6 separate regions of the Homo sapiens genome follow, and all the other regions are linked to region 6. Evidence: promoter capture Hi-C in 16 types of primary human blood cells and fetal thymus (Javierre and others, 2016). All regions are on one chromosome and are shown on one strand. Each heading gives the region's core, a stretch centred on a gene start or on the middle of the fragment in contact. The rest is flanking DNA. Distances are from core to core; before and after follow the strand shown. Region 1 has its middle 11 kb from the start of LINC01526. Region 2 has its middle 16 kb from the start of TENT5A. Region 3 holds the start of IRAK1BP1 (interleukin 1 receptor associated kinase 1 binding protein 1). Region 4 has its middle 28 kb from the start of LINC01526. Region 5 has its middle 7.7 kb from the start of LINC01526. Region 6 holds the start of TTK (TTK protein kinase).

Region 1 (4,588 bases), core at 1,950-4,449, 1.8 Mb after region 6:
AGGCACTTAGTCTGATTCCATATTTTGTCTACTGTAAATAGTCTTGCAATAAATGTGAGAGTGCAGATATCTCTACAGCATATTGATTTCTTTTGGATATACACCCAGTGGTGGAATTGCTGGACCACATGGTACTTCCATTTTTAGTATTTTGAGAAACCTCCATATAGCTTTCCATAGTAGTTCTCCTAATTTACATGCCCACCAACAGTGTACAAGAATTCCCCTTTCTCCATACCCTCACCGGCTTCCATTATTCTATGTTTTTTTGATAACTCATTTTAACTGGAGTGAGATATCTCACTATGGTTTTGATTTGCATTTCTCTGATGATTAGTGATGTCAAACTATTTTTCATATACACATCATTTGTATGTCTTATTTTGAGAAATATGTGTTCAGATCTTTTGCCCGGTTTTTAATTGAATTGTTTATTTTTTTTTTGTTATGGAGTTGCTGGAGTTCCTTATATATTTCAGTTATTAACTTATTGTCAGATAGAGTTTGTGAATATTTTCTGCCATTCTTTATGTTGTCTCTTTACTTTGCTGATGGTTTCCTTTGCTGTGCAGAAGATTTTTAGCTTAATGTGGTCCCATTTATTCATTTTTGCTTTGGTGGTCTGTCCTTTTACACAAGTCTTACACAAGAAAAATATGTGCCCACATCAAGTTCTGGACCATTTCCCCAATGTTTTCTTCCAGTAGTTTTATAGTTTCAGGTCTTAGATTTAAGTCTTTAATCCATTTTGAGTTGACTTTTGTATATGGTGAGAGACAGAATTCTAATTTCATTATTCTGCATATTGTTATCTTGTTTTCCCAGCACCATTTCCCAGAGACTGTCCTTTTTCTATTGTATGTTCTTGGTACCTTTGTCAAAAATGAGTTTGGCTTTAAATGTGTGGATTTATATCTGGGTTCTCTATTCTATGTGTCTGCTTTTATTCCAGTACCATTCTGGTTTGGTTATTATAGGTTTGTAGTATATTTTGAAGTTAGGTAGTGTGATGCCTCCAGCTTTGGCTATTTAGGGTTTGTGTAGTTCCATATAAATTTTAGAACTTCTTTTTAGTTTTGTGAAAAATGCCATTCATATATTGATAGGGATTGCATTGAATCTGTACATTATTTTGGGTACAATTGTCATTTTAACAATATTAATTCTTTCTATCCATGAGCATGGAATATATTTCCATTTTTTTTGGTGTCCTCTTCAGTTTCTTTCATCAGTGTTTTATTGCCTTGCTTGGATAGAATTTTCACTTTGGTTAGATGGATTTCAAAGTATTTTATATTATTTGTAACTACTATAAATGAGATTGCTTTCTTGATTTCTTTTTCAGATTATTCAGATAGTTGACATATATAAATGCTATAGATTTTTGTACATCGATTTTGTGCCTGCAACTTTACTGAATTTGTTTACCAGTTCTAACAGTTTTTTGGTGGAGTTTTTAGGCTTTTCTAAGTGTGAGACCGTGTCACCTGGAAACAAGGCTAATTTGACTTGTTCCTTTCTGATTTGAACTTTATTTATTTCTCTTACCTAATTACCCTGACCAGGAATTCTATATTATATTGAATAAAAGTGGTGTAAGCAGGCATCCTTGTTTTGTTCCAGATCTTAGAAGAAAAACTTTCAATGTTTCCCCCATTCAGTATGATGTTAGCTATGGGTTTGTAAAATATGGTCTTTATTATTTTGAGGTATGTTCCTTCTATACCCCATTTGTTGAAGGTTTGTATCATAAAGGAATGTTGAATTTTATTAAGTGCTTTTCAGCATCTATTGGAATGATCATAAAATTTTTGTTCTTGGTTCTGTTAATGTGATGTATTATTTTCACTGATTTGCATATGTTAAACCACTCTTGCATCCCTGGGATAAATCTCACTTGATCATGATAAATGATCTCTTTAATTTATTGTAGCATTCAAATTGCTAGTATTTTGTTGAGGTTTTTTGCATATATATTGATCAGTGACATTGTCTTGTAGTTTTTTTGTCGTTGTGTGCTTGTGTGATTTTGGTAACAGGGGAATGCTGGTCTTAGAATAAGTTTGGAAGTATTCCCTCCTCTTCAATTTTTTGGAAGACTTTGAGTAGAACTTGTGTTAGTTTTTCTTTAAATGTTTGGTGAAGCTTCAATCTCATTACTCATTATTAGTTTGTTGAGGTTTTCTAGTTTCATGGTTCAATCTTGGAAGGTTATATGTATCCAGGAATTTATCCACTTCTTCTAGGTTTTCCAATTTGTTCACATATAGTTGTTCATCATAGTCTCTAATGATTCTTTGTATTTCTGTGGTCTTTATTGTTGTGTCTCCTTTTTTGTTTCTGATTTTATATATTTGAGTTTTTTCTCATTTTCTTAGTCTAACTGAAAGATTGTCAATTTTGTTTATCTTTTCAAAAAGTCAACTTTTCATTTTGTTGATCTTCTGTATTATTTTAGTCTCAATTTCATTCATTTCTGCTCTAATACTCATTGTTTCTTTCCTTCTACTAAATTTGCATTTGATTTATTCTTGCTTTTCTGTCTGCCTGTAAAGTTGTCTAACATGCCAACAAGTTTTCAAGAATGCAATACAAACTAAAAAGGGGTTTGTGAAGGCCATATATGATCAATAGAAGACTTCACTTCTCTACTTTCTTTTGCAGCTTTCCAAAAGAATCATGCTAATATCCAAGTAAGCATACACACAGAGATTTAAATTACCATGATTTTCCCTTTCAGAGAAAGGGGAGGTTCTTCTTTCTACAGTTGAAATATATTTTTCAAACGTCCAGCTTTTAACAAAAAATTGTGAGACATACAAAGAAACAAGAACATATGGCCCACATGCAAGGATGAAAGATCACTGAAAACTGTCTTTGAGGAAGCCCTAAATGTTGAATTTACTAGGCAGAGACTTTAAATCAGCTATTTTAAATATGTTCAAAGAACTCAAGTAAATAGTATCTGAAGAACTGAAGTGTAAAAACAACATCTCACCAAACAGAGACTATCAATAAAGAGATATAAATTATAAAAAAGGGTCAAACAGAAAGTCTGATGTTGAAAAGTATAATAACTGAAATGAAAAATTTAGTAGAGACATTCAACAGCAGATTTGAACTGGCAAAAGAGAATCAGTGAACTTGAAAACAGATCAATCAAATATATCCAGTCTGAAGAGAAGAAAGAAAAAAGAATGGAAAAAAAAAAGGAAACCAGAGCCTTAGAAAATTGCAAGATACCAAGTCCAACATAAGCGTAATAAGTTTCAAGATAAAAAGAAAGCAGAAGGGAAAAAAGGAATATTTGAGTAAATAATGACTAAAATTTTCCAAAATTTGTTTAAAAAACATTAATCTACACATCCAAGAAGCTGAATGTATCCAAGTAGACAAACAAGAAGATTCACACCAAAACTCATAATAAAACTGTTGAAAAAGACAAAGAGAAAATCTTGAAAGCCACAAGAGAAAAGCAGCTCATCATATACATAAAAGGGATCCTCTAAATTAACAGTTAATTTTTTATTAGAAACCATGGTGTCAATCACGTATTCAGAGTGACAAAAGAAAAAAAAACTGTCAACTAAGCAAAACTATTTCTTAAAGAGGAAAGAGAAATTAAGACATTCCCCATATGTAGAACCAGAGAATTTGTTGCTAGTTGGGCCCCAAAAGAAATACTACTATGAACAAATATATGGTAACATATTAAATAATCTAAACAAAATGAACACTTTCTTAGAAAGGCAAAAACTACCAAAACTGACTCAAGAAGAAATAAAATAACTAAATAGACATATAGCAAGAAAAGAGATTGAATTAGCAATCAAAAAATTTCCCATAAAGAAAATTCCAGGACCAATTGGCTTCACTGGTCAATCAACCAAATGTTTAAAGAATTAACATCAAAACTTCACAAACTTATATAAAAAATAGAAAACATTTCAGAACTCATTTTATGAGGTTAGGATAATTCTGATACCAAAACTAGACAATAGTATATCTAAAAAAAAAGTGCAAACCAATATCCCTTATGAATATGGACACAAAAATCCTCAAAAACAATACAAAACTAGCAAACTAAATCTAGCAACATATATCAAGAATTATACATCATGAGACCATTAAATTAGATTTATTTCAGTAATGAAATATTGGTTCAGCATACAAAAATCCATGTAATACATGAGTAGTCTGACTCCCAAAATATTATGTGCCATTTTTCAGGTCTGACCACAGGACCAATTTCAAAAGCTTTACCTGGCAGGCCTCTTGGGGGAAAGCTACCTTCTCTACACAAGACATGGCGTACAGCTAGTGCACTGCAGGCTCCAACGAAAGTTGCAGTCACTTGCATTCCTAGCTCAGGATCCTCCCTTCGAAGGCATCGTTAGCAGGAGGCCCTGGGCCAAGGCCTTTTCAGGTGCATCTACTAAGCCCACCATACCTGGGGGACCTTGAAGACACTTTTCTTCACTCTGACTTAATATTAAGTACTTTCCCACTCCTAGCTTTTCTGTCTCTTCCCCTTCCATCCCTTGGGTCAGGAAACAGCAGGAACCTTCTTGGGAGGAATCCCTTGGCA
Region 2 (4,773 bases), core at 1,776-4,275, 1.7 Mb after region 6:
TTTCTACTCACTCTGTAGGGAGCAGTCTTGGCTAGTCATGAATAAAAACAAGCATTGGGATACTCTAATTTTCCCATCTGCAACTTGTAGTCTGTAAATAAGCTGTCAGGTATCTGTCATTAATTCATTCATTCAATGAATATTTATCAAACAGCATGTCAAGCCCTGTATTAGAAACTGGGAATACAATGGTGAGCACATTGCTCTTGCCTATGGAATTGTTTGGGCCAGTTCATTTCCAGGCCAGGTGACAACACACAACATTCATTACTCAAAGTACTGATGATTTATGATTTTAACATTTAGGACACATTACAGCTGCTAAAATAACTTTTATATCCATTATCTCATTAAATCTGTATAGCCATAATCTAAGTTGTTTAGAGGAGGTATTAGTTCATTTTATAGGCTGAGGAAACAAAAGTCCAAGGTTCACTAAGTAGTAAGTGTTGAGACTAGAATTCAAACCTGAAAGCCTGATCCCAAACACTGTCTCTTCCCACAATGCAGACTTGCTGTTTCTTACCCTTTCCATTCCTGGGCTGACGATGAATGCAGATGAGGAGCTGAGCATGAGGGTCTGTGTATCAAGATCCCACAAGCTCTACTTCTTTTTCAGTGCTTCTGCTGTCTTACTGCATTTACGGGAAACCCAAACTGCTCCAGGGATATGACTCATAAAGAGTTTTAATGCAGAAAGAGGGTGCTTACAAAATGGTTGGAAGAGCTAAAGGAGGAAAAGTCAGAGGGCCCTACTGGACTCTTGGTTTTTTTGTTTTTTTTTTTGGTTTTTTTTGAGGGACAAGGTCTCACTCTGTCATTCAGGCTAGAGTGCAATGGAACAATCATGGCTCCCCTCGTCCTTAACCTACCAGGCTCAAGTGATCCTCCTGCCTCAGCCTCCAGAGTAGCTGGGACTACAGGCATGTGCCACCACGCCCAGCTAATTTTTTAAACTTTTTTATAGATAGGGTCTCACTATGTTGCCCAAGCTGGTCTCAAACTCCTGGGCTCAAACTATCTTCCCCCTTGGGCTCCCAAAGTGCTGGGATTACAGGTATGAGCCACCACACTTGGCCAACTCTTGCTTTTAAAGTCACTCCACTACAGCTGAAATCCATAGGTGAAGAAATTACTGTTGTCGCCAGTACACACATCTACAGAAACTTGGTGGTGGTACCACAGCCACATAAAAAGGGGCTCTCTACCACATACTATGCACAAGTGCAACCTATTGGCAAAATCTGAATTGCAGCCAGAAACCTAGCAGCAAGAGAGTCTTGTAAATGTAGCTCTTTGCCTTCCAACTCCTGGGATGCAGGTTAGAATATAGAAAGGTGGAAAGAGATGTCAAGTGCCAATCAACAATATTTAACACTAATTTTTATTTTCCCAATGTATTCTGTGTGGCTCCTGTCTTTCCTCAATCTTATATGCCCTCTTTAAATCCAACTTTATCTTTTTGACATGCTGAAATAACCCCTCAATAATCTCTCCTTCACCTTCAGTGACAATATTGCATTGAAGGACATAAACTTTAGCTACTTTCTTCCTCTCTTTCTTAGTCAGAACCCCATATGTTGCCAAATCAACCCTACCTTTGGAATTAAATGAAGCATCACCCTACAGGACATAAAATTTGCATTCCTGCACAGTTACTCAAGGACCAGATGAAGCAACTAGAAATGTGAAAGAGGTAGTTCTACCCAGAGTGAATTTTGACCAGTGGGAAAAGGGAGACAGAGAGAAAGCAAGCAGGCAATTATTTCTCCTTTCTCTCCCCTGCATACTACTCCCAGGTACAGTGCTTCCTTTCAAGCCTTCTAGATAATTCCTTCCTGCTGACTGAACAAGCCTGCTGAATTATCTGATATGTTGTGTTATGGCTGTGATGCAGTAGCCAGCATGGTAGCACACTGTGTTGCAAGAGATTACATCTGTTCCTTACCTCAACATCCTGTGATGTGATTGTATCTGGAAAATAAACTATTAGAATCATAATCATTGCTTCAGGCTCGGCTTTCCAGAGGATTCAGGCTAAGTGACATAGATTTGACACTATTGGAACCTGTAAAGCAAGGGCTCTGAGCAGAGCTGTGCTTCAGAAACACTTTGTGAAAATCACAGGTATTTTTGCTTCACTCAAGTCTGACTATATAAAAATGGCTAAGGGTGGGCCTGGGCATGCATGTGTTTCTTTAAGTACAGTTTTAGAAATGCATGAACTAGTACAAGTTCAGAACTAAAATCCAGGCCCACTAACCTGATTCTCTGTGCTCCCATCCCTATGAACTATGTACCAAGTGACAAGAGAATTTTGGTGCCACTATGTACTGAGAAAGGCTTATGACATCATTAACTAGAAGTCACAGACTAGAATAAGAATTCCAGGGAACATGTCTGTGGTGGCATAACTAAACAGGTGTGATAAGCATACAGCACAAGAGGACTAATTAACATTTTAGGAGTTTCATGAGTTTATTCAGAATTTTGTAAGAAGTTAGCATATCTCATTATACTCTTTACCTTGCCTTTCAGACATTTTCTTTAATTTTTTTTAAAGATTCAAAAGCAGCCACCTGGTAGCATGCATTGCCAATAAGAAGCGATGTAGGCTAGACTAATTGATCACTTTTTAAAGATTAAGTGGCCCATTTTCTGTAATATGAATACAGAAAACAGCTTTGACAACACCGAAGTAGTTTATTGAATTTTGACTGTCAACTGAAAATTTAAATCATGCTTATTTTTCACAAGGTAATCCACTCACAATAGGCAATTGATGTGATCTCTTTCTGTAAGAAAAGCTCTCATGCTCTTCCTGAACCTTCTACTTACTGTGCTGTTATGATGCACCTGCCTTTTGGATAGATGGTTGATAGGAGATGGGTTGTTAAAGACACAATTTACCTTGTGTGTTTCAGGCAGAAATAGACTCTCTCTGTGTAATCACTGAATGAGTTCCAAAAGCCTTTATGTCTTACATACAAGCTCAGACACTCCAGAACTCATTTTTCTTAACTTAAAAGTGGGATAATTGTAATACCTTTTGTACCTATCAGGATTATTGTGACTATTAACTGGAAAATATAATTGTTTTATCAAATTGCTATGAATGTGTACCACTTCTGTTATACATTATATGGAAAAGCCTTCCATTGGGAAGTATTGGTCACATTGTATAACCATTCTTTTTCTTGGGGCCTGTACTACTTCATCTGGGCTACAACTGTGTATAGCTCAGATATCCTCCTGCTCTTGATATCCTCCTCTTTACAGATTTCTTCAAGTGGTTCTTGAAACCTTAAGTTTATTTAGAAGGCCTAAATCTACCTTCTTTCTAATTGGAACTTTACATAAAATTCTCATTATTTATTGTGAAATACATCCTCCTATTTCATTTTTCTCGATCCATCTCCCTCCTAGCCTCCCTTCTCATGTGAATCACGTGGGTTAAGTAGGTTGAAATTCTGGACAAGATTCAGAGAATTCACATTGGTTTTAATATATACAAGTAGCAAAAATTAGAGACTAATTTTTAAAATTTTTTGTAGACTTTGTTTTATCTATGAAGTCCAGCATACTTTGTCACATACCTAACTTTTTCAATAATTATAAAACGGCACCTAAAATCAGAAGCCTTATTGTGACAACATGCCATAGCATGGCAGGCACAAGGTCTGACAACACGGCAACATTCTGAAATTGGGAGACTCATGAAAAACCCATAACAAATGGGCACAACAGGTATAATGCCCCAGGGCAAGACTGTTCTATGAGGCTTGACCAGCTAAGGATGCCACTGGAAATACTGATTGCTTTTTAGAAAAGGCTAATGGGCAGACTGCCCTTTCTACATTTCCCTTCCTCAAATAACAAAGTGCATTTCCTGAATAGTAGCCTCTATTCTTACTCAAAATATAACAAACAGATCCAGTCTTTGTGCTCTATGTCTTGAAAATTTCTTTCAGGGATTCCCTAGTTCTGAGAAATGTAGCAGATGATTTAAAAAAAAGAAAGAAAGAAAGAAAGTGTAGTTACTACCCAAGACAACTGGAATCCTCACTTTACCAGGCTGCCAGATTTGGTTTGGAACAGATAACAGATCCATGGGTGCTAGCAGATATGTCCCTGAGTACCATGCCACAACAAACATTGTTTACCCATTGTTCTCAACTCCTCAAGCTCAGGAATCAAAAAGAGGCAACAGGTTCTTTCGTTCAAATACCCCTGCCCTAAACAACTCAGCTGAGAATATCTCTTTCATACTGTTCAGTGCTCCTAAATTGATTCAAAATTGGAATTTCTCCACCTGGGTTTTCCTCCATTCTTTTTCAACAAGCAGGCAATCTCTAAGATCCTTCTCTTATTTCAACAGTGTTCCTGATGACTCTTCCTTCACCATTTTAACATCTTCTTTGATATGTTCCCAATATTTCACCTCACCTTTCATTTTGAATCAAATGAGACTTATTCATTCATTAACTCACAAAAATTTAACAAGCACCTCCTAGGTAGCAGGCACTATTTCAAACACTAAAAATATAGTAATAAATAAGACAAATTTGTGGCCTTTATGGAATTTCATTCTATGGTGACAAACCATAAACAAAGAAATTGATCTATAATACAGTTTCAGGTACTGACAAGTGTGATGGTAACATATATATAAAAATCAAGTTAAGAACTTAGAGAGTAATTTTGTAAAAATGTTGGAGAAAACTCTATTTTAGAAAACAGGATCAGAAAAAAATTTCTCTGAGAAAGTAGCAT
Region 3 (4,446 bases), core at 1,057-3,556, 1.1 Mb before region 6:
TTTGAAGCCGAAAGACTTTTGTTATGGCAATAGCAATCTAATACAGTTTGCCTCAGTGTTCATTATTTTTCTTTTGACACGTTTGTTTCTTCTAGCAACAGTTCTCTAAGCATTAAGACTCTTAGCCCTTTATACATAATAAACATTAACAAACATTTTTCCCCATTTATTTGCCCCCCCACCTTTGTTTTTATTTTGCTTTATATAACTGATTTTTTTTAGTATAGTCCAATTTTTCAAACTTTTCCTTCATGGTTGCTGCACATGAAATTATGATTAAGGCCAGCCTTCCCATCCCCCAGAATATTTATATTTACATATAGGTTCTTCCAATTATTTTTCTTTTTGGTCTCATCTGAATTATTTTCAATGTATGATATAAGATACAAATTCTTTAAAAATATAGCTTACAATGGGCCAGGCACCGTGGCTCATGCCTGTAATCCCAGCACTTCGGGAGGCCGAGGTGGACGGATCACGAGGTCAGGAGATCGAGACCATCCTGGCTAACACGGTGAAACCCCATCTCTACTAAAAATACAAAAAAATTAGCCGGGCGTGGTGGCGGGCACATGTAGTCCCAGCTACTCGGGAGCTGAGGCAGGAGAATGGCGTGAACCCGGGAGGCGGAGCTTGCAGTGAGCCCAGATCGCACCACTGCACTCCAGCCAGAATGACAGAGCGAGACTCCGCCTCAAAAAAAAAAAAATATATATATATATAAAATATACTATAGCTATATAGCTATAGTATATTATATATATAGCTTACAATTATCCCTGTACCATGTAATCATTTTCCACTGATATGAAATCTTTTATCGTATACTAAATACTTACACTTTAACTCCTGTTGCTTTTTGTTTATGACATTCACTCATTCAATAATTTATTTTGGAGGCTATATTCTTCCGCATTTATCGTAAGGGAAAAAGAATTTTTCACCAAGTTTAAGAAACATTATTTTGGGTGTCTTAAATAATAAAAGACTATGACGGAAAGTTCTTAACGTTAGTTTTTAAATTAAAATTGTTTTCAGCTAACAATAAACAAGATGGATATACACAAAATTATGTTAATCTAGTGATGAGCCTAATTAAAGGAGGGGGGTACCATTGATTTAGTTGAATTATACTAATCGAAAAGAACAGAAAAAACGATGGTGAAGAAACTACAAGAGGACTGTCAGCTTTTCAGGGTCCTTTTAAAAGAACAGTTCTTGTCCTTCTAGAACTAGTTATTCAAAATTCTTTTTTCCCCCCTCGATTCTCTTGATAAAATTCAGATAGTAAAGACGTATAAGTCAGTGGGGCTATTTTTACAAAGATCATTGCTTAGTGCTAGGAAGAGAATCCAGAAGACGGGAAGTTGAGGGTTGTGTTCTAAAAGTTCTCTGAAGAAAAGGGTACAGAGAAGCTCCAAGTTGTGCAGGCCCAGCAAACTCCATGTTGGACGTGCTTTGCTACCACCTAAATCTCTTCTGTCGGAATTCAAGGCCCGAACCATTCCAGGGATTTTAGAAAAAAATGGGGAGACACAAAAATGATGCCAAAGCCATAGCTATCATTACAAACATCCATTATGTTCACTCTGCTTTCCATATGCAACGCACTCTACATACAATGGGCGCCTTATAAGCACATAGCAAATGTGAAAAATATTATCAACATTGCTTTGATAATATTAATATATTATATATATTAGAATATATTATATATTAGAATATATTATATATATTAGAATATATTATATATTACTAATATAAAAAATATTATCAACCCTGCTTTAGAGAAGATGATACTGAGATATGAAGAATCATAAACTGTCCAAGATCACAGGGGCAAAAAGTTCACCTCAACTGAAACCTCTCACGAACCACAAAAATGTGGCCGAGGGAGCCTCAAAAAGCAGTACCCCAAGCGGGGACGGTAAAGTCAGAAAAGACAAGGCTGGGGGTAATCACAGAGAAATCTAAAAACCCGCTCGGCCTCGCTACTCTTCTCCTTCCTCTGAGGTGCAGAGGCGCGGTGGGACGACAAGGAGTTGCGAGAAAGGGCAGAGCTCACTGAGGAGGCAACAGAGAAAGTCCGCTAACAATTTTTGAAGGCCGTAAGTTAAACATGTTAAAAACTGTAGCTACTCACTCAGCCGACATCTAGTAAAAAAGATGCGGCAAGATCAACAAGGCATATAGCTTGCGCCCGCCAGAAGTTCCGCGGCCTCCACACCCATCCCGGCATACTTTGCGCCGTGCACAGGCAAGCCCTGGTGCGCATTGGCCCCTTCGGCCGCCGTCGGCCGGTAGTTACTATGGAAACCCAGCTGCCATCGCTATGTCTCTGCAAAAGACCCCTCCGACCCGAGTGTTCGTGGAACTGGTTCCCTGGGCTGACCGGAGCCGGGAGAACAACCTGGCCTCAGGGAGAGAGACGCTACCGGGCTTACGCCACCCCCTCTCCTCAACACAAGCCCAAACTGCTACCCGCGAGGTGCAAGTAAGCGGCACCTCAGAAGTGTCTGCGGGCCCTGACCGGGCGCAGGTGGTGGTGCGAGTGAGCAGCACCAAGGAGGCGGCAGCCGAGGCCAAAAAGAGCGTTTGTCGCCGTCTAGATTACATCACGCAGAGCCTCCAGCAGCAGGGCGTGCAGGTGAGATCTCCGCGGGGGAGGAAATAAGAGCCGGAAGACACAAAAGGGTTGGCAGATGGTCGGGCCCCACAGGCCCCCCTAGCGGGAAGGGAGATGTGGAGGGTCTGGAGCGTTTAGGACGCGTTTGTTGCAAAGGTACTCCGGGACGCCAGGACCTGGCAGAGTGAATATTTGACCCATTCTTCTCCTAGACGAAGGTAATTATTGGCCTCAGGCAAATTAAAAATAAAAGAATGCAAATTGGGTAGGTTTTTATCTGGGGATATTTGCTTCAGTGATTTTGTTTTTAAATTTAAAGTGATGAAATGTTAAAACTTGAAATGTTAGTTGTAAATACTTGCCCACGTGGAGTGCTGGACACTAAATATTTTGTTTTGTTTTGTTTTTATTCCGCACCATGGAATTGGCAAGTGAAGAGCACGACCTGCTTCCTTCCGATCATGTAAAACTTTGCATGGAATGGTTCTTGAGTATGTTCCGCAAACAGTAACGTTGGGAAGTGGGGAAGAAGTTGCGTCCATTTTCATTTTATAATGATTTTCATTTTATAGTGATTCCCCCAAAATTTCTTCGGCCTTCTTAGGTTTAACTTAAAAGAAAAAATCAAGCCAGTATTGTGGATACCACATATACGAAATACTTCTACTTACTTAACGGAGATGTCCATGAGACAAATCACTAAACAAATCTTACCTTAAGCCTACTCCTAAGGCAAGAAAAAAAATGAAGCCATCATTTAATCCACACAATAGCACTGTTAGGCATGTTTTAATATCCCTGTTTTCCAAATTTAAAGAGGTTAAACAATGCTCTGAACTTTAGGTAGAGCAATATTTGAACTCATGTATTCCTGAAACCAGAATGTAAGTTGCTTCCAATTCTGCCGATAATTAGAATGAAAGAAAATTAGAAATCATAGGGATCAACGATTTCAGTTTTCTCATTTTATAGAGTAGGACCCCAAAGGCCAGAGATGTAACTTATCCAGGATGACATTGAGTTGGTAAAAGTGCAGGCATTGTTACTTCCAGTCTATTGCAAGAAATTCCATACCCCGAAAAAGCAAGTCCTTATTTTTAACAAGAAAAGATATTTGAATTGCATTTATAATACAAACATACAAGTTATTACAAAGTCATTTGGACAAGATTTCTTCAAATGATTTTACAATTTAGAAAAATACAGATAATTATAAATAATGTGAGTAAAGTGGGTTTAATATGTAGAAAAATAGTTTTAAAAAACTGCTACTAGTGCTGTAGTCGTTTGAATAATGTTAACAAGTTTTTAAGTTATTTACATAAAATAAAAAGAGCTCACAGGTCTCTAATATATAAAACAACATAAGCTGGGCATGGTGGCTCATGCCTGTAATGCCAACACTTTGGGAGGCCAAGGCAGGTGGATCACTTGAGGCCAGGAGTTCGAGACCAGCCTGGCCAACATGGCAAAACCCAATCTCTAGTAAAAATACAAAAATTAGGTGGGCATGGTGGCACAGTCCTGTAATCCCAGCTACTAGGGTGACTGAGGCAGGAAAATCTCTTGAATCCGGGAGGCGAAGGTTTCAGTGAGCCGAGATGGTGCCACTGCACTCCAGCTTGGGTGACAGAGACTCTGTCTCAAATAAGTAGTAAGTAAATAAATTAACTAAGTCCAACTTAGAGTAATCAAGATTCAGTGTTCAAGGCAAGACATAAGAAAGACAGTAACCTCCCAATTATCTCTGCTAATGGATGAAAGCAGTCAGGTAGATAATTTGTTCAGGAGATAATACAAAATATCATTTATATTTTCAG
Region 4 (4,737 bases), core at 474-2,973, 1.8 Mb after region 6:
TAGATACTACTAGAAAGGTGGGTTACGAGAACAGATGTGTTTTTTGTCCTCTGTTTAAGCTTAATTATTTTTGAGAAAGATTAAATCATAGAATCTTAGAGGCCCTTAGAAAAGGTCTTAAAGAGTGTTTATTTCAACCTCCTACCTAGTGCTAATCATGTCTATATCATCCTCAGAAAATGGTCTACTCATCTTTGCTTGATCATTTACAAGTTACACCTCACAAGAAAATGTATTGAATTTTTTAGTGATTTTTACTTTTTGAAATTTTCCTTTATATTGAATTTTTAAATGGCCTTTTTATAACTTCTCTTCACCAGTGCTATTTTGGCCTCTAGAGCTACACGTCTCATCCCTCTGATGTAATAGCCTTCAGACCAGACAATAAATATATTTTCTCTGCCTATATATTACCCCACCTCAACCCCCATATTCCTTTTTCTAGGCTGAACACCCAAATTTCTTCAATTGCTCCTTGTAAGACATAGTTTTAAAAACTTTAACCACTAGACTAAACTCCCTCAGCTTTCCACTTTCTGACTCTTCATAAATCTCAAATCTTTCAATGTAATACTCAAAAGAGTATGCTCTAGATATGGCCTGGCCAATACACAGTTGAGTAGGACGGTTAGTCTTGTTCTAGATGATGTATTTTCATGAAGGTAAGAAAGATTGCTGCTCTCCAAAGGTATTTTAATGAAGCCGGGGCTCCCTCTATCTAAACACAAAGGATTGGTACTGATAGTGGATTAAGAGATAGCAGGGACTAAACAAATAGTCCCTTAGCTGCATGCAGCAATTTAGAGCCTAGGACTTAAAATTGGAAGACTGACTTTGATTTCAATTGGCAATTTACTAGATATGTGACTTCAGGAAAGTTGTTTATACTGTCTGTGTCACACTTTATTAAAAAAAAATCTTTATAGGAATATCATAAGAATATCCTAATATAGAAATGTGGCATTTTTGGCAGTCATTAAATGAACTAAATATGTATAAATGATTTGCAATCTGTAATTATACAAACATAAAATCTTTTTTAAATTACTGTCAACCTAAGAATAGATCTTGATGCTTATTTCCATATAATTTTAACTTCCTGATTTTGACTTATCATCACAGCTTGTGGAAAACTTTCTTTAAAATGTTATTTAGTCTGGTTTAGTAATTCAATAAATACTAAGCATTTATTCAGTATGACACATAGCATATTGGTTCTCCTTAGAAAGTCGATGAAAGTTTCAAAGTTCCCAGGTTATCCATCAACTGCTTACAGATCCATTGGAGTATTTTAATCAAAGGAGTAATTTGATTTTGGACTCAGGATGCTGTTCTTTGTACCTGATGATCTGGAACCCTGGGTCAGGTTGCCTAGGGCAGCAGCAGCAGTAGTCAGTAGACCTAACTCCACTTTAGGGCTGCTACAGGGAGCTACCTGTACAGCTTCCTACTCCATTCCAAAGCTCTAGCACAGTCTGAGTGAGCCAAACAATTACTACAGAATAAAAGAGCCTTTTTAATTAGTGTAGTTGTTGGATCTGGAGACTCTGGGACTCAGACTGGTGCAGGGCAGTAGGCCGTTAGGTATCTGGAACTTAATCATGGAGGAGACTGCACTCCTCTGCAAGGCTTCTAGTGGCACCAGACTCAGGAACAAGCTGTAACATTTGGACTTACTACGTCAGTCCTCAATATACTCCCACTGAAAAAGCCTAGAAGAGAGAAGCATATTTTCCATGTTCCTTCCCTTTATTTCATTTTCTTTTCTGTCTATACAATAACATTCATATAAAGTATAGCAACTTTAAACTCACTGTGAATGGCATGGCAGAGAATGGCAAGGTATTTTTCTGATATGACCTAGCATAGATATATTACAGATTTCTCCCGTCTACAAGTCATATATGCTTAGAGGGACCTTCTGGATCAGCTAGTGTGACATACTCAATTTACAGGAGAGATTGAGCTTTGGAAAATTAATTTGGCAAATTAACGGCAGCACAGACTACAATTTCCTATCTAATGAATTTTCTCTATGCTGTACGGATTAAGCAATTGAGTTAAGCTGCTGAGAAGGTCACAAATACACAAACATACATATATACACTCAGGCATACACACATTAAGTTGGAGTGTGAAAGAAACTGAGACAAACATCACTTATAATCTGATTCATGGCAGTTTCTCTTCATAAATGGAAACTGGATGGACCAGTTTTGCATTTCTGTTTTTTTTTTTTGAAAGCTGCGATGAAGTGACTGAATTGATCCACCCTCATTATGTACACCCACTCTTAGTTGCATACACTATCCTGAAACTCCATTAACATCTACTGAAATATGGGGTCTTGCACAACTCTCTATTAAGTGGCATTGAAGTTAGAATTAAGAAAGCAGAATGGGATCAACCATGCAAGGTTTCCAGAAAGGTAGATCTTTAAGATGGTAAGAGCAATACATCCATGTAGAAAAATGAGGATAACGTGAAGTTAAACAGCTTCTAAAAACATAGAAGTGGAAACAATCAAGTGGTATGAGAAAGGTAGAAAGCAAATAGTCTTGGCTGGGGCAGGGGCAGATGTATGGAAATCTGGTAGAAAGTGATGTGAAAGTGTGGCCACTGTCTCGACACCATCTAGATACGCATAATGGCATTATGCCGCTTCTACTGCTTATTGCACAGGGCGGTAATCCCAGCAGTGAAAACAATGTGGAGGCAGTTAATATTTGTAATATCATATGGGGCAGTTTCCAAAGTTAAATGCATTTCTCCCCAACATGGAGCTGGTTAGAACTAATTAACATGAAATCCATTGTACAAAAAGAGGGAGCAGAAGTGCTCACACTTCACTGAGTTTTTCATCTAAGTAATTCTGTGAAATCAAAGCAAGTACTGTACTTGAACTACTCTGTCAGGAACTATATATGCCATGCATTTATTAGCATTTCATGGTTTACCAAGCACATTCACAGATACATTGTGTTTCGTCTGACTTTCACATCAATCCTATGAGTTAGGCTATTATTATTCACAACTCACAGATGAACAAAGCCCAGCCTTGAGAAATTTGGTGAGTTGCCTGAGGTCATTCCACTTGTGGTGTCAGTGTTGGAGCTCAGACCCAGGTTCTGAATCTGAATCAAGTTATCTTTCCACTGAACCATTTCAGGGAATAATAAGGACATCTCCTTGGGCCCACCACCTTGAGTAGCCTTCTGACAGAAGGGACTTCTGTTAAGGTGTTCCTAGCTACCATAAAGAGTTGAATGTTAGACCAGAGCTGCCTTCTCTGCGGGACATTTTATAATCTGTCTGTCTGATGGCTCACATGGGCAAGTCTGCAATACACAACAGGACAATGGGTACTACGATAGAGTTTATGTATATAGAAGCTTGGAATGTCTATGACCCTCTGTGTAGCAAAATGGCAACTTGAAGAATTGTTTTAATAGGATTTATTAAAATTTTGACATTTATGCTTTCTGGGGAAGATGAGTTATGTAGACAGCAAAATGGATTTACTTTTTAATTGGCTTTTCTAAAATAATTCGTCTCATTTTGCATTTAGTCTTCAGCTGTTGCTCCGATGCCTAAAATTTTATGTTTTTACATTTTCTGAGGCAGATATTATTAAAATATTCACTGCTACTTGATATTTCAGTGCTTTAGTTTCAGTTTCATTTTTAGGAAATTGATAATATTTTCAAATTATATACCAGAGTGATTGTGTCAATGCAATTTCCTTTTTGTTTTTACTGTATTTACTTTATTCAAGATGCTTTTTGCTTTCTTTACTCAGACACACATCCTTGTGTGATTTTTTGTGTGTGCGCTTTCTAATATTTTTTTCTTGCCCAGTGGCTATTACTATTTTGCCTTGTTCAAAATTCATTCATGTCGGTTTCAAAAGAACTTCAAATATTTGTTTACATTTTACTGTATGAGGCAAGTCCTGTCATTTATCTAACAATGACCAACATTGCTCCTTTAAATGTCTCCCCAAAACAGGTCCTCCCCAGTTCTTCATTTTACCTCAAAGAATCAGAATGACAAGGAAAACTTTAGCAGGAAAAGAAAATGGTAGTCCTATAACTTTTTTAAAAACAGCAATAAATTGTATTATTGGCAGCATAAGAAAAAGTCTGTGGCTGATGACGTTAACAAAGTTGACATAGTGCCATTTGAATTGACTCTACTCCTAGACAAGCATAAGTAGTATTTACTCAGTCCCAGAAACTGTGATTCTCAGGCTGAATCTGAAAATAAAAACCCAACAGGTCTGTCCATTTTTATTTTCTTCAATCTCAGGCTGATATTTAAAACCATTGAAAGACAAAATTGGCTGTTTGATAGTAGCAGCATAGTATTATAGCTCACACACTTCTACTCAGAGAAATATGATGCCTTAAGAACAAAACTTTGACACAGAGCTTAGCTATTTAAGGTTCATAATACCCTGAATTCGTAGAGTATATTTTGGTTTACAAATATTGCTTTGAAACTGGCAGCAACCTTAAGAGGTTTGCAGAGAGCATAAACTGTTAATCCCAGTTTAGAGCAGAGAGGAGTGGAGGTCAGTCAGAAGGTCTAAATGACTCACAAAAGGGCAAACAACTAATTAGGGGAAGATCCAGGTTTCCTAATACCTAGCCCATATTATTTGTACTATTTCGGTTGAGCATTTTTAAATTTCTATGCTGTTAGAACATTTTTAGACCAATAAGAAGGACAATTTCA
Region 5 (4,892 bases), core at 1,491-3,990, 1.8 Mb after region 6:
AGGCACTGTGCTCTGCATTTTGCCTATATATTTCACTTAATTGTCACAAAGCTATGATGAGAAAAATGTTATCATTATCTATTTTTGTTGGAGTGAGAAACTGAGGTTTAGAAATGTGAGCAACTTGACAAAGGTCATTCAACTAATAAATGAGAGAGTCAAACATCAAATTCAGAATATTCTGCAAGAGTATCTTCATGGCAACCCTGTCAGTCACTCTACTGCTAGCCTTATCTGCATTAGCTGACTTCCACATTTCTAGACATTAACTTTTCAATGGCTGCCCATTGCCTACAGGATAAATTTCAAACTTTCTTACATTCACCCTGGTGCCAAATTATCTTTGTGTACTTTATGTACAAATAACCCATACCCTGCTCCTTTATCTAATCTTTTATTATTTCTGATTTTTCACATAATCACATCTTTTCTCCCCAATTAATCTGCAACATTTCTAAAAGCAGGTATAATGGTGTTACATATGTTACATAGCTTTTTATTCATCACAACACTTACTAAATGTCCTTCCTGTGGTAGGAGCTCAAAAATTATATGTTGATTAATCTTCCAAATTTCCTACATCCCACTGTTGAGTCCTATTTCAGTCACGCACAACAGTGATACATAAATTAATTTGAAGAGTTTTTAAATGTAATATGCTAACACATTTCCCCACACCAGACAACACTCATTGGTACCTGTCACTTGTGGATAATCATGCCCCCTGAGGCCACTCAAAAAAACAATCTAAAACTTGGGAATGAATCATAGTGTCAGGTGTTCTGGAGTTTCCTGAGCATCTTTGTCACCATTTTTTTTCCCAACACCAACTGAAAGTATTATTGAGAAAGAAAATGAGACTAAAAGAAGATGAGATGTGCAACAAAGCTGAAAACAATTCAAGAGGCCAAGTTTATGGATGCTAAAGCATGCCCATTGCACTGCCTTGGGTAACTTTTGGCTTCACAAAAGACTTTGGGAAGATTCAGTCACAGGAAACCAAGACTATGAAAATGGAAAGGAGACACCTAATGTGGCCATCAGTTTATGTCACTGACACTGTTTTCTTAGTCCTATCACACACCTACAATGATGAAGGCAATCATACTTTGATTCCAGTGACACCAAGGGGTTGATAGAGATGAGTGGCTGGCCCCTGGAATTTCTATCAGTGATCCTATAGCTACACCAATGTAATAGTATAATAATCTCTAGAAAGTTGATCCTTTCTCAAACTCAAGCAGCATGAACATAAACTACATTAGAAACTCACTATTTTTATTGACCCAAAACATGTATGAAGTAAAAACATTACTTGTGATGCAAATTCAGCTTCCAGATGAGTCCATAATTTATCTTCCAGCCATATTGTTGCCATTAAATCCATCTATGTAGAATTCTGAAACTGCTTCCAATGGAAGGTCAAATTTGTTGCGATTGATATTATTTCCTTTGGGAACTCTCTGGAGGAGGTTACAGATTCTGTTCCACATTCAGTTTCTAAACATTGAAATCTTGGTATCACCAAGGTGTTTCCATACCACTGTTCCACCATCAACACTGAATATCGCTTTTGTATGTAAGCTCATGTCATCTAGATTTCCATTTTCCCTGTCAACTCCTGCAGATCACCTCACTAAAGTACTTAAAACAGTATCTGGGATTTAGTGAGCATTCGATGCATGGGAGTTATTAATATACCTAGAACCATTGGGTGTTTCCAATGTCCTTCAGCAGGGGTATGCCAAGGCCAACTTATTTGATTGTTAATATTTTTATTATTTTTTAATCATCCATCCCAGAATGTCATTTTATTACTTTTAGAAATTTAACAAGCCAATTGTTGGACATGCCCATCATTAAAAATTATATGAACTTATAATTCAATAAATTATATTAAAAATAAGGGTTATAAGCACCCCAAACTCATCACTTTCTAATTATTTTACTATATTTTATATTACTTAGGTTTTTGAGGCTATTTAACTCAATCGTATCAGCATGGCAGAAATACTGTATGATGGTGTACTACTGTGCTTCTCTTCCCCACTCTGTGTTCGGTGACGTCACCCTAGTAGCTTGAAAATGGTCATGATGGCAATGCTTCATGAAAGAAAGGAGCCAACACTACAAATCAGGACTTGGTTTAGTATTCTGTTGATTGTTTAGACTAAAGAAAATGATGGAGAAAATGTTAATAATGCTAATTAAACTTAACAGTGTGTTGTGCTTAATATTAAAGCCAAAAGCTATTTCAATTTAATGAACGTAACTTTGTACAAGCGTTAGCAATAGCTCAACAATAAATCACTTATAGGATTTAATGGCAACAAATTTATTGGAAAAAGAGGTAGCAGATTGGGGTCTAATCATTTGTGAAATCATGGTAGCATTGCAACCATAAGTTGGTTATGCATACAAGAGTTCTACAAAAAATAACAAAAGTATACTGTAAGAATCAATTGGATACGTGGAATTTACAAAAGGGTATTATATATTTTACTACTTATAAATTTGTGTTATGCTTTATTATATTACATTTATAAACTTTATATGTAAAATGTATAACAAGTATGTATATATATGCACACGTACATATACATATCTGTACACATACACATGCTTTTTTCCTAAAAGCTTTATTATGAAACATTCACTGCACACGTCTGCCTTTGGATTTTCTTACCAATCAAAGGATAAAATAACTTTGCTAAGGGTGGAATTCATACAAAAATGAGATGGTGAAAAGGAAAAATGGACATCACCTTAGAAAACCATGGAATCGTTCAAGTAGCAAATATTTATAATCAGTTATTGCTGCAAAACAAATAGCCTCAAAATCAGAAGCTTAAAACTGAGAATATTTTTTATTGCTCTGAATTTATGGTTCAGCTATGTAGTCCTGCTCATCTGAAACAGGTTTGACTGGGTTTACTCATGCATTCACAATCAACTAGCTGGTCTAGGATGGCTTTGCTCGTATGTCTGGCAACAGTCAGGTTGTTGTCTGGGGTGATAGAGGTAATCGAGCCACATGTATCCACCTGCCAACGGGATACCTCAGCTCATTTTCATAGTTATGGGCAAGATTAACACAAGGCCTCTTGGAGCCTGGGCTTAGAAGTGGCATAAAACTCACTTGCTCCTAATTGTTGACTAAAACAAGTCACAAATACAGCTCAGATTCAGAGGTGGGAAAATAACTTCCACCTCTTAATGGGAGTCTGGGAAGTCAAAGGATATGGATATAGAGAGGCATTGGCAATTTGAGTCATCATCTACCACAACGTTTTCTCCCATCTACGTATGCTCACTTCAGGATCCAGCTGAAATCCTATTTACCTTGGTTAAACAAACTGCCTGTGAATGGGGCCGGCCCAGCTGTAAACCGACAAACAAAATCTTCTTTGTCCCTGGATTATGGTCCTGCTCTCCCATTTTCTGAATATGAACAATTTAGTAGACCTACTGAGACAAGGATAAAGTAGCTAGAATTTAGTCTCAGTTTCTCTTTTCTCATAAAAAAAAATCCCATATAATGCAAATTTGCAATTAGAATCAGGTTGTAGAAGAAAAATTAAAAAGAGATTTAGTGGAATTAAGGAAGCTGAATGAAATTTAATCCCAAACACCAAGAAAAATATGTCTTAAAAGCTGTGGTTTTACAAAGTATGAGAGATATATGGACCCAAGCTCAACTTGCGTAAAGAGAAAAAGGGGGCAAAAAAGGGCTACTTTATTCCAGATAGAAACACTAAGGTTATAGGAAGGAACTACGTTGTGATAACCTCCTTTTTCTTCTTTGGCCCCTTACCAACATTTGCAATTATATTTATTTATTAACTGGCCTTTTTGTTGACTCATGTATCCCTAACACCTAACTCAGTACTCTGGCACAATAAATAGTTAAATGTTAAACTAATGCCTCAATATATGAGACAACAATGACTTTTATAGAAAAGTTATATTCATGTATGCATTTCAGTAATGTTTTCCTTTTAAAAATACTTTCTGCATAGTCTTCAAAAGTGAAACAGTAGAAAGGAAGGGTCCCGCCTAAATATTGGAAAACATTTGAGGATTTCTATGGTTCTTTCCTTCCTTTTGCAGATTGCAGAAGAATTGTAGAACCATACCAATCTTTACGTTTATTCAAATTAATCAGCCCTATTCCCTCAGCACAGCAGTGTAACCTGCACAAACAATACTCATGCATCTGTTTATAACATTTCTGTGTGGAGATCACATTTACCAATTTGGCTTTCAATCACAGCAATGACTATCTCTCAATGGTTTTTTAGCCAGTCATATTAAAATAATCCTGCCCGCTGATTCAGAATAGGAAGAAAGGAAGATAATGAATATTAGTTGAGTGATTAATTATCAGTTCCTATTCTAGGGTCTCTAATACATTATCTCTTTTAATTCTCTAAAACAATTCTTCAAAATAAGTATCACAATCTCCATTTCACAGATGAGAAATCTGAGGCTCAAAGAGGTCAAGAATTTGATACAGTTTACAGTTTGTAAAGTGACAGATATGGGATGTCAACTCCAGTAAGTCTGTCTGATTCTAAAGCTTTTGTTCTTTTCACTCTATAACTGTATTACTTCATCTCTTTTGTTTTAATCAAGATGGGTTTATATTCTTTATTTGAATTTTAATGGGGAAGAAGCTTTATAAGGTATCATTGGAAATGTAGTAGAAAAGAAAAAGAAATTTCTAAGCCTCTCCTTCCATTTATGATTCTTCCGGAAAGCATTAACAACCAAGAGAATGTCATATTTCAGCCCTCAAAGCAGATTAAAACAAACATTCTCATCAGCTATGGTTTATGTCGCAGCAAAATTTTGTATTGCCCATAACTAAAATATGCCCCTCCTTTTGATAA
Region 6 (4,553 bases), core at 533-3,032:
CTTTTGATTTTATTCCGAGCTAGAAAGGGAGCACTGAAGGGTTTTGAGCAAAGTAGTGACATAATCTGATTTAAGATGACTTTGCTATGTCAGAGAATAAATTGAGGTGAGGCAAGGGCAGAAGCAGGGAGACCAGCCAGGAGGCTACTGCAGGTAACATCAGTTAAGTGATGCAGATGCCTTGGACTGAAGTGGTGGCAGTGGAGGTGGGGAGAACTGGTAGGAGTCCAGGAATCTCTTGTGCCAGCCCTGACTCAATCTGCTTATGAGTTAGATAAGGGATCAGGGATGACACAAAGGTTTTGGGGCTAAAAAATTTAAGACAATGAATTTGTCTTTTATAGATTTTGTAAAAAAAACAGGTTTGGGTAGGAAGATCAGGGGCTTGGTTTTGGACATTTTGAGTTCAAGATGCGTATGAGACATGTAAGTGAAGATGTTAATAAGTAGGCAGTGGATATCTGAGTATGGAGTTGAGGAGAGCTCAGCTAATGATACACATTTGGGAGCCATCAACATATAGATGGTATTTAAAAATAGAAGACTGAAGGAGACCACCAAACGAGAGTACAGAAAGAAGTGTTAGGGTGAGGTCATCCAGCAACAGTATTTTAAGGAAAATGCAAGCTTTGTGATCAGGCCGCAAACAGATCAACGAGAATTGGAGGAATAATAAACTCTTTCCAGGCAGAAGCATTAGATGCAATGGTGCAAAGGTAAGTGATTAGCCAACCATGGTATAGCAAGTCATTTTGCTCTGCTGAAGCAGAAATACTAGCTAGCTGACACAGAAAGATGCATTAAGTGATTGAGAAGGGCTCTCACGCTAGCTGGGTGGCTATCCAGAGCTGGGAATGTGAGGGTTCTAAGGATAGCTTTGGAGTTAACAAGTGACAGCTGCAGTTAGTTTCCTATACATACACAAAACCAACCCGTCCTACCACAGAATATATGTCATAATGCTGGCACAACAGACACATCCCTTTTAGTTTTGCAGACGAGGAGTAACCGTTGCCCTGGACCACAAAGCCACTTAGCGGCAGAGCCTCGCACCCGCGAAGATTATTACTAGGGAGATGTTTTTACCCCTGAGGACACCTGAGCCCTTAAGTGGGGCAGGCTTCGAGGGAGGGGGGCCGATAAGGCGACTTCAGACAGGGCAATCACGATGGGCGCTTGAGTTCTGCGCAGAATTTTGACAAGGGGGAGGGTCTTGGCTTGAAGACAGAGCGTGGAGTCATTTAAGGATAATGGAAGGGCATAAGCAGAAGCTCAAGGATAAAAAGCACTGAAATTCTTGAGCTGGCGGCAGGGCTGAACGTAGCTCAGTGAAAGATCCTTTCTTGCCACATCCTCTCTAAGCCAGGCTGTGAGAACCGCGGGAAACGAAGGAGAAGGGTGGCGGTGGGGTCAGTAAAGGGCCGGCCCAAGGTGCATCTTTTAGGTCCTGATGCTAGGAGCAGCCGTCCCTGCCCCTATATTCCTCTCACTGGGTAGGTTTGCTCGGGAGTGGCTACCTCCCAGGCAAAAATTCGGCCTGGTTAAACTGGAAAGACCAGGAAAGCCCGCCCACGGGCGTCCGGGGAACGCCTGCAAAGTGCCAGCACCCTACCAACCCAGGCGCCGCACGGGTGGGGTCGCGGCCGCAGGCTCTTCCGGGGCGGGCCTAGCCTGACGCAGGAGGAGGGGCGGCCCCCGTCGCACAAGAACCAATCACGACTGTCGCTTCTACGTGGCTAGCATTGACCAATAGGAGACCGTAGTGATAGCGACGGGGAAATTCAAACGTGTTTGCGGAAAGGAGTTTGGGTTCCATCTTTTCATTTCCCCAGCGCAGCTTTCTGTAGGTAAGTTCTGTCTTACCGGTGCACCGGCGCACTGAGGAACAGCCGCAGCCGGTGTAGGGGCTCATTGTTAGCGCTGGTCGGTGAGGGGTGGGGCGAGGTGGGGGCAGCTCGGAGCCAGGTATGCGACGCGGCTAAACGAGCTGGAGGGGGAGGGGATGTCTCACTGCCTCAGCGGGTCTGGCCGGTGGGGTGATGCAGGAGGTTTTGTTGAGGAAGTAAGAAGTGGGTGTGGCCCACGCTGGAAAGAAGGGGTGGTGGGGTACCTGCGCACAAGATCGTTTTCCAAAGGACAGTCTCTCTTGTTTTGGGGGTTAGAACTGGGAAAGAAGCGGGTGGCCGTGATCTGACAGTTATCTTTCAAACCTGACTTAAGAGGTGGAGTGATACCTTGCTGCAACTTTATGACTTTTTTTCATTGTTAAACCTGAAGACGGGGCAGCATTGTTATCAGTGACACTGAGTTGGTGTTTGAGAGTCACAAAGATACGATTAACAATAAGACTGCAGACACTTTATTGAACAAACACCACCACCATGCAGATAAGCAAGTGCTCAGTACCAGTACAATAGTTTCTTAGTGTTAGATTAAGGTAGCAAATCGTGATTCTGCTAGATATGCACAAGAATAAATCTGCGGATTTCCTAATTATCAGTAAAGCCCCATCATGTTTATATTCTGCTTTGAAAGCACTTGCACTGGAAGATTTACTCAAGTAAAGCAGGCGAATAAAGGAATTGTTATTCCCATTGCCAAACGAATTCTTTATGTCTATGTCACTACCAGAATCCAAGCAATCTTTATGTGTATGTCGCTACCAAAATCCAAGCAAACACTCTATCATATTTTTTTTAAGTGACACTAAATTTGCAGATTTCTACAGTGTGACGTCATTGATGTTATATTGGGGGAAAAAGTATACTTGGCCTATGAAACCTTGGTGAATAAATTACAAAGATGTGTACCTTGTTGTTGTGCACTTACCTCCATTAATACTAGCCTAATAATAGCTGCATTTAGATGTGTTCACAAAACGAATGCTTTAGTCGTCTGGGTTCTAAAAAGCTAGTGCATTTTTTTCTTTGATGCTAGTTAAAGTAGGAGTTATGACTGTTCAGTTTTTTTCTTAGAAATGGAATCCGAGGATTTAAGTGGCAGAGAATTGACAATTGATTCCATAATGAACAAAGTGAGAGACATTAAAAATAAGTTTAAAAATGAAGACCTTACTGATGAACTAAGCTTGAATAAAATTTCTGCTGATACTACAGGTGAGTTTTTCTTTTCTTTTAAGTTAGTAACTGTTTGTTGGGTATCCTCTAAGGTAAAGATATAGTACTAATCACTTTATTTATAATTTACTCATGTGTTTATTGTCTTTCTCCTCCATTAGAATGCAGGCTACATGATGGCAGGGTTTTTGTCTGTTATATCCACAGAACTTTGAATGGTGTCTGGCACATGGTAGGTAGGCACTTAAACATTTATTGAACAATGATTAATGGGTGAAAATGCCCAGAGTTTAATACTCTAGCTCTTCTAAAAGTATTAGCTCAGAAGCCTGATTCTTTACTGTATTTCAAATGGTTGGTCATTTGAATGGTGACCTTTGGATAATTTTCTTACATCTATACTAACCTTTAAATAGATGAGGAATTGAAAATAAATGGAAGAACCTGTGATCTAATCATGGTGGCTGACTGTTCACTTTGAAAAAACCTAGAAAATGATAGTTTTAGTGTTAAGCAAAATCTTAATGGAGTATAATTGTGCTTAATTATGTCACTAACAAAGGTTGTACATCAAGGCAATTGAGTATTTTAAGTACTGAGGAAGATTCAAAGATGCTTAAAACCATAGTTTCTTTCTAGATGAGAATTTATATATTCACTATGCTACATTGTAATGCATGCTGGGCATCATAGGAATACTAGCATGATAAAACACAAATGTTTTATTTGTTGATTAGAGGAAGAATAGGGTACTCAGGCATGAGGAATGCATCTGCAAAGCCACAGATGGCAATGTGTGTTTTTTAGACATTTCACAGACTAATTTCTTAGGAAAGCAATAGGAGGTAAAAATAGAAAATTAAGGTCAGACCAAATTAAATTTAAAACGACAAAGCAAAGTTATGCATGCACTATATTTTAGTAGAAAGTAGAAACAAATTTTATTTATAAAAGTAAAGATGTAGGCTTTGTTGAAAGTGACTGAAGTTAATAGAAGGAATAATAGCTTCTCTGGAAATCTGAATTTAATATTGCTTAGTAATAACCAAAATATCCTGAACAGAAGACTGACATTCAAGTTATCTTTTTAAAAAACTAACACTGAAGAAAGTAAAAAGTACATTTCAGTGTGAACATTTTGTCTGAAGGTTATTCTTGCTGTTTCTGTTGGTTGGGGTTCCACAGAGAGAAACCTGACAGTCACAAGAGGTCCTATAAATTCCAAAGGTCTAGACCACGGTAACTATGAGTTTGTTGGACCAAGAAATTATCAGGGCCTCTAGCAGAAATTTAGGTTACTTGGAGAGAAGAAAATGATTGTCTCATTTGTTTATTTTTTGTAAAGCTGGTTTGGTTTTACAAGTAAGTATGAGGTATACAGAGATAATGTTGAATGGTTAAGGTTGTAAAGAAGGTTATGTTAGGACTGGAGCAGTAGGTTTAATGAATAAATCATTGATGGGAGAATTTTCTAAG

Evidence for each region. The method cuts DNA at HindIII sites, captures the fragments that hold promoters and counts their contacts. A CHiCAGO score of 5 or more calls a contact.
Region 1: a contact is called between a fragment that was not itself captured here and the fragment with the promoter of TTK in region 6, in 2 of 17 cell types (naive B cells and total B cells). The highest score is 6.3, in naive B cells.
Region 2: a fragment that was not itself captured here is called in contact with the fragment with the promoter of TTK in region 6 in 8 of 17 cell types (neutrophils, naive CD4 T cells, total CD4 T cells and 5 more); the score reaches 19.2 in neutrophils.
Region 3: a contact is called between the fragment with the promoter of IRAK1BP1 here and the fragment with the promoter of TTK in region 6, in 1 of 17 cell types (fetal thymus). The highest score is 5.4, in fetal thymus.
Region 4: a contact is called between a fragment that was not itself captured here and the fragment with the promoter of TTK in region 6, in 4 of 17 cell types (total B cells, neutrophils, monocytes and 1 more). The highest score is 8.7, in total B cells.
Region 5: a fragment that was not itself captured here is called in contact with the fragment with the promoter of TTK in region 6 in 4 of 17 cell types (total B cells, monocytes, naive B cells and 1 more); the score reaches 16.0 in total B cells.

Annotation. Positions count from the first base shown.
Region 1 is chr6:81,823,394-81,827,981 of GRCh38, forward strand. No RefSeq gene overlaps it. Among named protein-coding and RNA genes, the nearest start is that of LINC01526, 11 kb to the left of the region's middle. The HindIII fragment of the contact is 2,112 bases long and covers 2,144-4,255 here.
Region 2 is chr6:81,734,302-81,739,074 of GRCh38, forward strand. No RefSeq gene overlaps it. Among named protein-coding and RNA genes, the nearest start is that of TENT5A, 16 kb to the right of the region's middle. The HindIII fragment of the contact is 6,057 bases long and covers 1-4,773 here.
Region 3 is chr6:78,865,245-78,869,690 of GRCh38, forward strand. It overlaps IRAK1BP1 (interleukin 1 receptor associated kinase 1 binding protein 1), which reads left to right and starts at 2,307. Exons shown (of 4, transcript NM_001010844.4): 1 at 2,307-2,647. The coding sequence starts at 2,333. LOC107986613 (a long non-coding RNA gene) reads right to left here and starts at 2,246. Exons shown (of 2, transcript XR_001744210.2): 1 at 2,144-2,246. RefSeq lists enhancers at 2,202-2,311, 2,342-2,661, 2,494-3,094. The HindIII fragment of the contact is 7,957 bases long and covers 1-4,446 here.
Region 4 is chr6:81,783,358-81,788,094 of GRCh38, forward strand. No RefSeq gene overlaps it. Among named protein-coding and RNA genes, the nearest start is that of LINC01526, 28 kb to the right of the region's middle. The HindIII fragment of the contact is 3,333 bases long and covers 58-3,390 here.
Region 5 is chr6:81,804,029-81,808,920 of GRCh38, forward strand. No RefSeq gene overlaps it. Among named protein-coding and RNA genes, the nearest start is that of LINC01526, 7.7 kb to the right of the region's middle. The HindIII fragment of the contact is 210 bases long and covers 2,636-2,845 here.
Region 6 is chr6:80,002,867-80,007,419 of GRCh38, forward strand. TTK (TTK protein kinase) reads left to right here and starts at 1,783. Exons shown (of 22, transcript NM_003318.5): 1 at 1,783-1,847; 2 at 2,976-3,116. The coding sequence starts at 2,978. RefSeq lists enhancers at 820-1,694, 1,265-1,384. The HindIII fragment of the contact is 2,460 bases long and covers 626-3,085 here.